Linked DNA regions of Homo sapiens: regions 1 and 2 are each linked to region 3. Evidence: promoter capture Hi-C in human tissues and cell types (Jung and others, 2019). All regions are on one chromosome and are shown on one strand. Each heading gives the region's core, a stretch centred on a gene start or on the middle of the fragment in contact. The rest is flanking DNA. Distances are from core to core; before and after follow the strand shown.

Region 1 (4,091 bases), core at 1,156-3,655, 250 kb before region 3:
GCTCCCTTCTCCAGGGTCACAGCTACAAGCCACTTACTGGGGTCTTCGCTGCCCTTTCCCAGTCCTGCCTCAGTTTCCCTGTGAAGCCACAGAGGTCTGGTGTGACCCCTTACACTGCAGACTCCCTTACTTGCACCCATGCCAAATGGATCCAAGTTTTCTGCTCAGTTGAGGGCTGGGCTGGGGCTTGTGCCTCCATCCCATATAAAGGGCTGCCTCAAAGAGGCCCCTGAAACCTTCTTGGCACCTCCCAGCCCCCAGCTGGCCTTTCTTCCCATGGCATATATCTGCTATGAGAGTCTTCTCTCCCAGGCAGGGCCGAGAGGCAGGAGGTACAGAGCATAGCACTCCAGCTCTGGAGTCAGAAAGAACTGGGTTCAAACCTGGACTCTATCACTTCCTGGTGACACAGCTTTGGGTGAGTCCCTTCACCTCTGGAAGCCTCACCTTCCTCATCTGTTAAATGGAGATAATGATAGCCATGTCTCAGAGTTACAGGGAATTAAATGTGAAAATGCTCAAGACATAACAGAGCTCTATAAACATTGGGCTGCAGGGCAACGCAGCATTTCCCAAGGTCACTAGGAGTCATGACAGCCCAGTGCACGAACCTGGCTCCTGACCCAGGATAGAGGGGTCTAAATGGGGGCTGAGAAGGCGAGGCACTGGGGGATGCCCTAGTTCACAGCACAGGCCTGGCCAGGGTGGGGGAACAAGGACAGGCAGGAAGATCAAAGAGGCAGGGGTGAGGAGGACGACAGCAGCAGCCTCACTAATAACCCCATTCCTGATGCCAATCAGGCCTGGCCGTCCCCTGCCTGGGGCACAGGAAGGCTTGCCAGGGAGGCTCTGGAAGTACCGGTGGGATCCCAGCATCCTGGCTTCCCATCTCTGCAGCAGGAGCCTAACTCTCCCTCAAACCCTGCCAGGGATCATCTCGTCCATTCCCCTGGAGTCGGAGGCCAGGGCTTCAGAAGGGAAGCTGTGCTCGTGTGTGGCCAGAGCCTTTCTGGGTGCTGACCACCCCTACCTGCCCTCCCAATTCTCTTTCTCCTGAGCTCCCGCTCCCCATCACTGAGCCCAGCAGCCTCCTCTCCTCCTTCCTCCTTGGTTCCAAAGCCCAGCCCTCAAGGCCACGCCAAAGAGGCCCACACGCTGGCCCCTTCCCCTGCTTCAGGCCCAGCTGCAGATGTGGTGCAGGAGGGTAGGGGGCAACTAGGGACCTGAGCCAGCAAGGAGGGCCGGACTGGTCCCCAGGACCCAAGTCAGAGAGCCCCTGTCTCCCCAAGCCCTGAGCTCTATGTCACCATATGGACCTCCCTGGGCAAGTCCCAAGCCCCTCTCTGGCCTCAGTTTCTTCTTCTATAAGTGAAGGAGGTGACTCAGATGTTCCCCAAGGTTGGAGTTCTTAGTGTGGGGATCATAAAACTTTTTGAGAATCTGATTTAAGGCAGTGGAGCATCTTCCAAGGTAAAGATGCAGCGAGGACTCCTCCCTCCAACCTGCACCACTTCGTGTGCATTTCAGGGGATTGTGGAGTCCCTGACACCCATGCCCTGTTCTATGCTCATCCATACTATTCCTGGGTACCAAGCAGTTGCCAAGGTAAATATGGGATGTCCCCCTTCTAGGAGTTTGCAATCTAATAGTGCCAGAGGTGCTGGTCCTCATTCTGCCCCTAAGTCGCTGTGTGGCCTTGGGCTGGTCCCTTCCCTCTCTGGACCTCAGTTTCCTCCTCTGTGAGATGAGTGATGGAGAGATGAGGCCCTTACCGTGTGGGCCTGGCTGAAAAGGAAGCGCAGCAGGTCCTTGATGTTCTTGGCCTTGTCCCTCTGGAAGTGGACCACAGCCTGGGTGGGGCTGAAGCCTGTGGCCTGTGGCACCTCGGGCCAGCCCAGGTCCAGGTCTGGGGGGTCTATGTCAGAGGCCATGGGGAAGTAAGTCCCTGAGGTGACTTCAGAGAGCAGGCTGAGGCGGTCTGGCCCGGAGGCCTCCTGCCCCTGAGCCTCGCTGAGCTCAGGGCCCCCGCGCACATGGCTGGTCATGTAGTCCACATCCAGGGCGCTCAGGAAGGGCAGCTCCCGCTCCTCGGAGATGACCCGCAGGTAGGCAGCCTCACCCCGCTCCAGGAGGGCGTCGGCCGCCAGCCGAGCCGCCTCGCTGTGCCGCAGCACCAGCGGTGAGCTCTCCCGCCACCACGGCAGCTTCAGCTCTTCCACCCGGCCCCGCAGGGGTCCCGCCATGCCCTGGGCTCCCAGGACCCCAGGCCCCGGGCCTCCGAACATGCCTGCCACGCGGCTGCCTCACCCGCCGGCAGGGCCCATGGCCCGCACGCTGGGCTGGCTGCAGCAGGAAGAGGAGACCAGCAGAACCGCCTTCTGCCCGCCCGCTCGCTGTGTGTGTGGCAGGGCCCCCAAACTGTTGCCACCCTAAATCAGAGCCACGCTCCACCCTATTGCCCCTGGCCTCTGGAACCTGTCAGGTCAGCCCCACCTGTCTGCCTGTGTTGGGACTCGCCTGCCCAGGGAAGCGGCAGTGCCAGGCCCTCGGTGCACACTCCTGCCTCCCTCTCTTCCTCCCAGCAACGCCGCCCCATCCCCACCAGGCTCCCAGCAAGTCTCCAAATGCTGACTTCCCGGGACCCACAGAGGTTGAATTACAGCCAAGAGGGGCCCAGGCGACTCAGGAACACACACTCACACGCACACGCACACACACTGCAGGTGGGTGAGCGACTCAAGACACCCAGGAAAAGACATGAACACCCATGCAGATGGACACACTGACAACTGACCGATACACAGACATGGAGTGTGGGCTGACACAGACCGACCACACATTGTAATCACATCCACTTGCATAAACTCTTCACCCAAACGCCGATGTAGAGACCGGCCATGACCCCCACAACACATACCACAGTGGATAGCACGTGCCCTGGCTCAAGTCTGCAAGGCCCTGAGAGCTGAACGACTGTCACATGGAATATCCAAGGACATCAACGCTGGTCTGTCCCCCAGCCAGCCCTCTTTTTGCTCCCATAATCGTCCTGCCACTCTCCATCATCTTAACTGTGGTGCTCACAGCCCCCTGGCTCTCTCCCACCCCGGCTCGGAGCTGTCCTTCAAGAACCTAGAGCAGTGGCTCTCACCCTGACCCCAGGGGTGGTGAGAGGTGATGAAATGCAGATCCCCGGGCCCCACCCTCCTGGAAATTCTCATCCAGAAGGTGTCCGTAGGCTTCTGGAGCTTGTCTTTTTTCTTTTTCTTTTTGAGATAGGGTCTTGCTCTGTCACCCAGTCTGGAGGGCAGTGGCGCAATCACAGCTCACTACAGCTGTGCCTCAGTTTCTCTGGACTCGAGCGATCTTCCCACCTCAGCCTCCTGAGTAGCTGGGATTACAGGTGCATGTTACCATGCTCGGCTACTTTTAAAATTTTTTTAGAGATGGGATCTCACTATGTTGCCCAGGCTGATCTTGAACTCCTGGCCTCAAGCAATCCTCCTGTCTCAGCCTCCCAAAGTGCTGGGATTACAGGTGTGAGCCGCCACACCTGGCCATTTTTCTTTTTTAATTGAGACATGATCTTGCTCTGTCACCCAGGCTAGAGAGAGCAGTGATGTGATCATAGCTTACTGTAACCTCAAATTCCTGAGTTTTTAAACAAGTGCCCAGTGCACTGTGGGCAGTGGGCTAAGGCCCACCCCTGAGACATGCTGTTCCAGATGGCTGTGCTTGCAACACCCTTAACTCCAGGGATGTTCTTGGCCTGGTGGTGGCCAGACCCCAGCCTTCTTCCCCTCCTCCAGGGCTGAGTATGAAAATGGTTGGAAGGTTGTTTCAGAGAATGGGCGGACACACTGCAAGGTCAGGAGGCAAACAGGGCAGGTAGATTTCTGACCTCTGCCCCAACAAAGATTAAAGTCCTGGAGCATGTACCGTGTGTCCTTCGGAGGATGGTGAGCAGCTTTGCTCTGGGGAAGGGGGTGAGCAGGTGACAGCTGCAGCTGGGGAGCCAGGCTAGGCAGAAGCGGTCACCACCTTTCCACGGAGGCATGAGGTCCAGCGAGGATGGCGGGAAGCGCAGAAGA
Region 2 (4,285 bases), core at 1,674-4,173, 220 kb before region 3:
AACCTGATTTCTGGGTAAGTGCTTTTCCTACTTTACCATCTGCAGGGCATTTCCAGAGATCATCAACACATTCATCTGCAAACCTCAGTTCTTGCTTTCCAGCAAGGCCCACAAACATACAAACACATTTTCTCCTCTTGGGATACACCTGCATTCTGGTTGGCTACTGCCCAGGAAAAACGGAGTGCAAGAGTAGAGTTCCTTACTAGCAAGGCTCCTTGACTTCCTGGTCCTATATTCTAACTCCAGTGACCTGTAAGCTGCCTCTCCCTTCACCTCTAGCTGAGACAATGGCAAACTGCCACAGCTAGAAATGCTTTTCAGATATCATCACCCAGGCTGGATTAGATCATGAAAAGGGGCCTTCCTGGAAGAGGGTGGAAGTGAGATCAGTACAGACACGTGATCTGCAGGCAACAGGTGAGGGCAAGTGACAGCACCTTCCTCAACTACCGGACTCACTCGGCAGGGCCCTTCTAGCTAGTCCAGCAGCCAAGGGGAGCAGGATATTCGCTCTGGTGAATCCCTGTTGGATTTTATTCCCTCATTTAAGTTTTTGGTTGCTGGTGTGCAGGTTCCCCACCTCTCCACTGCCAGATCATTCTATATGGAGCACTCTGCCCATGACTACACAGCTGCACCCAGCAGAAGAGAAACTCCTCCCAGATAGTGTTGGGCCGTTCTCTTATTAAACTCATCCTTTCCATAATGCTTTGCTTTTCATAAAAACCCATACATACAACACCACAAGGAAAAGGTTCCTTTTATATCAGTTACTCATATTTTCCCATTTATTTAAGCCATTAAAATTCATGCAGATATTTTATAAGCCACCAGGATTCAGTGACTGGTATTACTGAATGTTTAATAATAAACTAAACAGAAGAAATCAGAGGGTTAAATGATGACTGCAATTCCTGTAATGACTTAATTAAATTTTTATTGAGTACATAAACTATGATGTCACCTCTAGCCAACCACAGGCCTGCTTTCCCAGCATGTCACAGGGAGGGAGCACTCAATAGGAGGCTTGGCTAAATGAGCAGCAGGTCTCAGCTGAAATGGGGAGGGGAGTGAGGCTCATGTAACACACTCAATAAATTATCCGTTCATTTTTAAACAAAGTCCATGAGTTATAATATATTTGCCATGCACTTTTTATGACATAATAAAAATGTTACCTTAAGGATTACTTAACACATACTACAAATATTATAGCAGAGGCAGGCACAAGGGGCAAAGAAAACAAACACGAGCAGGCCAGGGACGGGTCCTGGAGTTTATGTCCCAGGGGAAACAGCATAGTATATTAAAAAGGGAATGCAAAAAAAAGGAAGGGATGCAAGAGTTCAGGGTTACTAATCGGCAGATTAATGAATGAGACAACCAACAGAGAACACAAGTAAGGCAATAATGAATCTTGCAGGGCACATGTTTAATTAAAGTAGCATTCTCAAGGAGGAATATTAGCTTTAAAGAGATGCCAGTTCATTTGAGGCCAATTCGCTGCTCTCTTTCCCCTTTTCACTGTTGCTGCCTTAAAGATATTTATGTGACTGCTTAACAGAGGAACCAGACTATGTGGATACAGGGACTGATGGGAGATCAAGTTTTAACTCCTCCATGGACTCTACAAGGCTTCTAGTGATCTGCTCTTGGCCATCTTTTTTGCCTCCCCTCCTCTTGCCTCCCCATCTTACTTCACCCTGCAGTCAGTAAAGTATGTGCACAGATACATCATGCTGTCATCTATTTCTTAGTCATACTGCTGCCAGGAATTCTTCTCTTCTTTATCCACTGATGGAAGGGATGCTAACTCCTTATCCTCTAAGACTTAGCACACATATTTTCTCTACTAAGTCTGCCCTCTCCCCCATCTACAGGTGCCCCAAAGTGATTCAAGTCTGGAGACGGGTCCCATCATTCATTATTTACCAAGTGCCAATAACTGTGCTACAACTTTACACATTAGCCCACTTAAACCTTCCCAAGGACTCTAAGAGACAGGAACTGTTACTGTCTCCACTTTAGAGAAGAGGAATCTGATGTTTGGGAAAGTTAAAGCTAGACAGCTAGGAAATAGTGGGGTCAAGATAAGAATACAGAGCAATCCAACTCCATTGCCTACCTGTGTTGGAATAGACACTGGAAGGAATGTAGCTGCCCCTTCCTGTGCCCCACAGCTCAGGCTATCTGCAGAGGCAGAACTAAGAAATGCTAATGTGGTCTTGAGTAAACACAACTCAGAGATTCCAGTTCCAGTGGCAGCTAGAGACAGCCACCAGATGGGTCATCAGTGGCCGGTTACTAATACATCAGATATCCCTAGTAGAGCCAAGCTCCACTCCTGGGAAAACCTGAGGTTGAGAGTGGGTGTAATTATGGTGGGGGAATGGGAAAACAGAAGAAAGTTGGTATGGAAAACACTGATGAGCATGAAGGTGAGAATAAGCTTTAAGGTTACTGGCTTGAAGCAAAGTTGCTAACAGTAGCAGACTAAGAATTTGCTGGAATGAATGAATGACAAAGGACAGCTAGAGTTGCTGGCTGAAGCCTAAGGACTATATCAAATTCATCATAAGGCAACAATGCAACACAAGATTGTAGGTCATGTTTTAGTTTGCTGTAGTAGACAGTAATGCCACCACCAATGCTTTGCAGTGCCAACGCCATGTTCTACAGTCATTGTGCGGCAACAGGCTGATGTGCACTGAACATCAGCTAGCCTATTTAAAGTTCAGGTTAGAAATTAGCCCACTGTGGAATATTTTGTGAGATACTTAGAAACAGAGTAAGAGTAGACAGACAAGAGAGACGGGGGACATGGAGAGACCAAATAAAAAAGTCTACCTGTTAACTCACATGCATTACGACTGAAAGATCTATTGAGGGTCTTTTAGCAATGATGACAAAATACAAACAAAACTGTGTGTGTGTGTGTGTGTGTGTGTGTGTGTGCGCGCGCGCGCGCGCACGCTCAGGCACGCATGCATATTGAGCAGTTCCAGAAAAAGTTGTTAATACCAAGAATAAAAAGAAAAATATTTTAAATGAAAGACAATTTCTTTTTCTCTTTTTAGAAAATAATGTGAACATTTAAATAGAGTATGTTCCCGTTGCGATGAAAGGCCAACCTAAACCCAGCATGAGGAGGTCCATTTTAAAATCCATTTTAAACATTTCAAACTTTTAATGTACAAGGGAAGCTTGCTATGATGACATGCTGTTTAAAAATATTCCCTTATTGGCTGGGCAAGGTGGCTTACGTGTATAATCCCCATGCTTTGTGAGGCCAAGGCAGGTGGATCACTTGAGGCCAGGAGTTCAAGACTAGCCTGGACAAAAAAGTGAGGTCCTGTCTCTACAACATAGTAATAATAATACAAACCCCTTTCTTATTTATTTTGAAAATTCTAGTTTTGCTGCTTGGGATCTACATGTTCAAGACTGCATAGCCTGATAATGTGCTGAAAAACAAGGGACATGGTTGGCAGACAGAATTGCAGAACCAGCAGCCCTAATTTCTATATAGTCACGAAGTACAGGAGTCCTTCCCTCAGGCTTGGAAAATAGCCAAGAGAGAAGAGATGTATGTCCTCAGAAATTCTAGTCATTTGTCCAGTTGAGAAAACATGAGAACACATAATATTAAGTCCACAATCATCTTCAAAAGGAGCTGATGAGGTACACTACGGTTCTGGGATGATCAAACTACCATGGCAATTTAACTTTCGTCTCTTTTAGGGCATTTGAATAAGGGGAACATTATAGCTATAATCTACTTTGGTTTCTGGAAGCTTTTTGTAGTATTCCACATGACAAGTCTCATGCATACTCATTAGAGAAGCCAACACCTGGCTTGAAAGAGTCGCAGTTTCAACAACAGCACTGATGGTGCGGAGTCCTAAAGGAAATAATCCTGGGTACTATCTAAAATCCGTACTGATAATAATGATGACAGTGATGGTCGTAACAATGATTACACAATGCATTTAATAATATTTTCATTTTATTATCTTATTTGTGCCTCACAACCACAACCCTGCCCTCGAGGAGCTCACAGCCAAAATGCTATTGTTGTCCTGATTCTATAAACAAGGAAACAGAAGCTCAAAACTGTTAAGTGGCCAGGTGCGGTGGCTCACGCCTGTAATCTCAGCACTCTGGGAGGCTGAGGTGGGCCGATAACCTGAGGTCGGGAGTTCGAGACCAGCCTGGCCAACATAGTGAAACCCCATGTCTACTAAAATACAAAAAATTAGCTGGGCATAGTGGCGCATACCTG
Region 3 (4,131 bases), core at 1,173-3,672:
ATATATATATATGCACACACACAAAGAGAGAGAGAGAGACTCGCTCTGTCGCCCAGGCTGTAGTGCAGTGGTGTAATCACAGCTCACTATGAGGCAGGAGAACAGGGAATCAGGGTAACCGGGGGTTAAGACATAAGCAAATGAAGGGGTGCAGCCAGTTCTAGGCAGCATACAGGCCACATCTTCAATCCTATGATAACGAGACAGAAGTTTCCACTTCCGCCTCCGATTGACCGTGGGGCCAAATCTCCACTTCAGCCTCTGATTGGCTGTGGGCCAAGTCTCCACTTCAGCCTCTGATTTGGTCGCAGGCCAATCCTTCATAGGTGTAGCCAACTGGAGGCTTCTAAAGGGCACCTAGGGGTGTTGCCAGGTCCCTTTAGCTTAATACAAACCCTGATTGAGGAGGCTCTTGAGCAGCTTGCTCTAACCAGCTGCCGCTATGAATCGTCTTCAATAAATCTATGCTTTTGTTATTCCGTTCTTCTGTTGCTGTTTGTCTTTCGTTGCCCTTCTGTTACTTTATGTGTTTTGTTCAACACGCCAAGAACCTGGACAACTCTATGCTGGTAACAACTGCAGGTAACCTGGTAACAACTGCAGTTTCAAACTCTCCTGGGCTCAACCCCAGCCTCCCAGGTAGCTGAGACTATAGACGCATGCCACCACACCTGGCTAATTTTTTTATTTTTATTTTTATTTTTGGAGACAGAATCTCACTCTGTCGCCCAGGCTGGAATGCAATGGCATGATCTCGGCTCACTGCAACCTCCGCCTCCCAGGTTCAAGCGATTCTCCTGCCTCGGACTCACAAGTAGCTGGGTTTACAGGAGCACACTACCACGCCTGGCTAATTTTTGTATTTTTAGTAGAGATGGGGTTTCACCATGTTGACCAGGCTGGTCTCAAACTCCTGAACTCAAGTGATGCTTCCTGGCTCGGCCTCCTGAAGTGCTAGGGTTACAGATGTAGTTTTTAAAGTTTTTGTAGAGTGGGGTCTTGCTGTGTTGCCCAGGCTGGTCTTAGACTCCTGGCCTCATGTGATCCTCCTCGGTCTCCCAAAGTGCTGTGATTACAGGTGTGAGCCATTGTGCCCAGCCCAATTTTTAATTAAAAAATGGAATGATGGAATGCACATTACTTTGCATCTTTTCCCCCTTAAAAATACATTCTTAGTATACCTAAAGGAGTAAATCTACCTCATTCTTTTGAAAAGTGGCCTAATATTCCATAGAATGGGTGTATCGTGATTTATTCAATTTATTTAATGTATCAGTGGGCATTCTGGCTGGTTCCAGATTTTTGCCATTGAACAATCTCATGCATACATCTTTATGATGTGGTGCACTTAAAATCTTTAAGAGACAGATTCAATATCTTAAGGTGTAACAACCACCCAGATCATGGTACTTTTATCCTTATATTAAAATTTTTTTCTGTTAACCTTGGATAGCTGCTTACATATTTTTTCTTTTTCAAAATTTTTCTATTAACCTTGACATGGTGCTTTTACTTCCTAAAGTGGAATTCCTGTATGAAAGCCTATGAGCTTTTATATCTTACTCATTGCAGCTGCATTACTGTGGGAGCTGTCCCTCTAGAGACACTGGGCTGCAATGGGAAGTGTCAGGGAGAGCTTAAGCTCCATATCACTTGAGTCTAAACCTGGAGGGATAGAGCGTGTCCGTGAGGATCCCAGGGCCTGGAGAGCAATTTAGGGTAATATTCAGAAAGCAGCGCTCAGGAGAAGCACTGGGACGCTGTTTAGGTAAAATCAACCCAAAAGACCCTGATTCCCAGAGTACTTTGAGGTCCAGAAGAACTGGGCTGGAAGCAGGTCCTGCTATTAATTGGCTGTGATCTTGGGCAAGTTATTTAACTTCTCCAGGTCACAGTTTGCTCTTTGGAAAACGGAGATAAGTCACACCTGCTTTCAGGGCGGACACCCTTACTTTACATCAGAATCATCCGATGCCATTCCTAGCGTTTCGGCTTCAGTAGGTGGGAATCAATTATTTGCATTTCTAATAGGTAATCAGTTGATAATGATGCGGCCGGTCCGGTACACTCGAAAAACCACTGTTCCAGGATATTCCAAGATGTTCCAAGAGTCTTAAACACCTGGTGCAGTTCCGAGCACAAGGCACACGAACGGTGCTATTAGCGTTTCTAACCCCGCAGAGAACTCCTCGCACCCCAGTCCTCAAAATCCCGCCCCGGACAGCGGAGGCCGGGGCAGTAGCTTCCAGACCCAATTGCCCGCGCAAGGGGGCGTGGCAGCATCGTTGGGCGGGGCCGCCTGTAAGAGAACGCGGCTAAAGGTGGGGCCAAGCGTGCGGTTTGCTGCGCCTGCGTGAGGAAAAAGAGGGGGGCGTGGCTCCAGGCCGGAAGAGGGAGTCTGTAGGGGCGGGCCGGCTGGCGTCCCCTTTCCGGCCGGTCCCCATGGAGGCGCTGGGGAAGCTGAAGCAGTTCGATGCCTACCCCAAGACTTTGGAGGACTTCCGGGTCAAGACCTGCGGGGGCGCCACCGGTAGGCCGCAGCGGGGCCGGGGTCGCGTGGAGGGGGGCGTCCTAGAGCTTAGCCCGGGCTCCTGGACTCTGACTGGCCTGCCGGTGTCTGAGGGAGCGGATTCGAGGCCATTCTGACCCTCGCCCCTTGTCCTGCAGTGACCATTGTCAGTGGCCTTCTCATGCTGCTACTGTTCCTGTCCGAGCTGCAGTATTACCTCACCACGGAGGTAAGGGGCGGGGCTTAGTGCGTGGGCGGGGCTTGGCATTCTAGGAGTAGGACCTTTAGGGGTGGGAGTGGGGAAGGAGAGGTTTGGGGCTAAGTCTTACTGAGGTAGCGCTGCCCCAGGTGCATCCTGAGCTCTACGTGGACAAGTCGCGGGGAGATAAACTGAAGATCAACATCGATGTACTTTTTCCGCACATGCCTTGTGCCTGTGAGTACCTCACCATGGGTGGGACTGGAGAGACCCAGGGTTCTCATGTGGGCTGCCAGATTCACACCTCCACCCTTAGGTTCTGGACTGGACCCCAGGACAACCTCCTTCTCCTCATCCCGTTCTGCCCCAAGACAGGCCCAGTATCCCCTTCCCCTCCAAAACCCACATCCCCTTGTCCCTAGGGTCCCAGTACCTTAGCCTGATTTTCCTGCTTCCAGATCTGAGTATTGATGCCATGGATGTGGCCGGAGAACAGCAGCTGGATGTGGAACACAACCTGTTCAAGCAACGACTAGATAAAGATGGCATCCCCGTGAGCTCAGAGGCTGAGCGGCATGGTAACCAGGGGAGGGGGCCGGGTCTCAGATCCCAAAGCTGGATGTACCCAAGCCTATCTGCTAGCAAGTGAACTGTGGCAGGCATAGTGATACATTAAACAACTAAGAGCTAGAGAAGTCAAGTGACTTGCCTAGGGTCCCCCAGCTAGTAAGAGTCAGAGTGAGCTAAAATCCTCTATACATATCGAGTCAGGTAATCTACCTGGCTATTATTCTCAGAGGTCCTCAATACCTGCAGATGGTAGTTTGAATACCAGAGGTTTGAAGATAGGTCTTATGTGCTCTTGCCTTGGTAGAACTGTCTAGATGGACCCAGGCTTCTTTGAGTGTTTGCTTTCCCAGCCCATTGGCTTAATTCAGCCCTTAATGCTCTTCCCCTTTGGAATGCAGGTGGTTTAATGAGAATTTAGGTTCTCAAGTCAGATTGCCTGGGTTCACATCTAGCTTTGTCTCCTGCAGTCTGTGAGCTTCAGCTAGAAAGTGGTAATAAAACAGTAGTACCAACCACATGGAATTGTAAGATCAAATGAAGTCATATGTGTAAAATGCCTGGTACAGAGTGGGTACCCACTTTTACCTTCCTTTCCTTTATCTTGGTGGCTTCCCAATTCCCTTCGTTAACTCAGTTTCCCACCACAGCAAACTGTCCTCAAAGCTGGGATTTCTAACACCTTAGAGATTACTCTGGTGGGGAGTTTTATCATTCGTTGTTTCAGCAGATTAATGCAGGACACCAGTGGAACCAACATAATTTGCTATAGGACTGGATGTGGAGTGGAGGAGAGCAAAGTCATGGTTGTTGATTCCAACGCTTTCAGCCTGAGCAAATGAATGACTTGAGATGG

What was found. The method cuts DNA at HindIII sites, captures the fragments that hold promoters and counts their contacts. A contact is called where the count stands out against the background at its distance.
Region 1: a contact is called between the fragment with the promoter of FAM83C here and the fragment with the promoter of ERGIC3 in region 3, in 1 of the 25 tissues and cell types used here (mesenchymal stem cells).
Region 2: a contact is called between a fragment that was not itself captured here and the fragment with the promoter of ERGIC3 in region 3, in 2 of the 25 tissues and cell types used here (dorsolateral prefrontal cortex and spleen).

Annotation. Positions count from the first base shown.
Region 1 is chr20:35,290,020-35,294,110 of GRCh38, forward strand. FAM83C (family with sequence similarity 83 member C) reads right to left here and starts at 2,406. Exons shown (of 4, transcript NM_178468.6): 1 at 1,773-2,406. The coding sequence starts at 2,285. The HindIII fragment of the contact is 12,597 bases long and covers 808-4,091 here.
Region 2 is chr20:35,318,327-35,322,611 of GRCh38, forward strand. The region is part of intron 7 of UQCC1 (ubiquinol-cytochrome c reductase complex assembly factor 1); the gene reads right to left. Among named protein-coding and RNA genes, the nearest start is that of FAM83C, 28 kb to the left of the region's middle. The HindIII fragment of the contact is 3,522 bases long and covers 1,163-4,285 here.
Region 3 is chr20:35,539,656-35,543,786 of GRCh38, forward strand. It overlaps ERGIC3 (ERGIC and golgi 3), which reads left to right and starts at 2,423. Exons shown (of 13, transcript NM_015966.3): 1 at 2,423-2,530; 2 at 2,668-2,738; 3 at 2,858-2,945; 4 at 3,167-3,286. The coding sequence starts at 2,443. RefSeq lists an enhancer at 2,095-2,184. The HindIII fragment of the contact is 35,337 bases long and covers 1-4,131 here.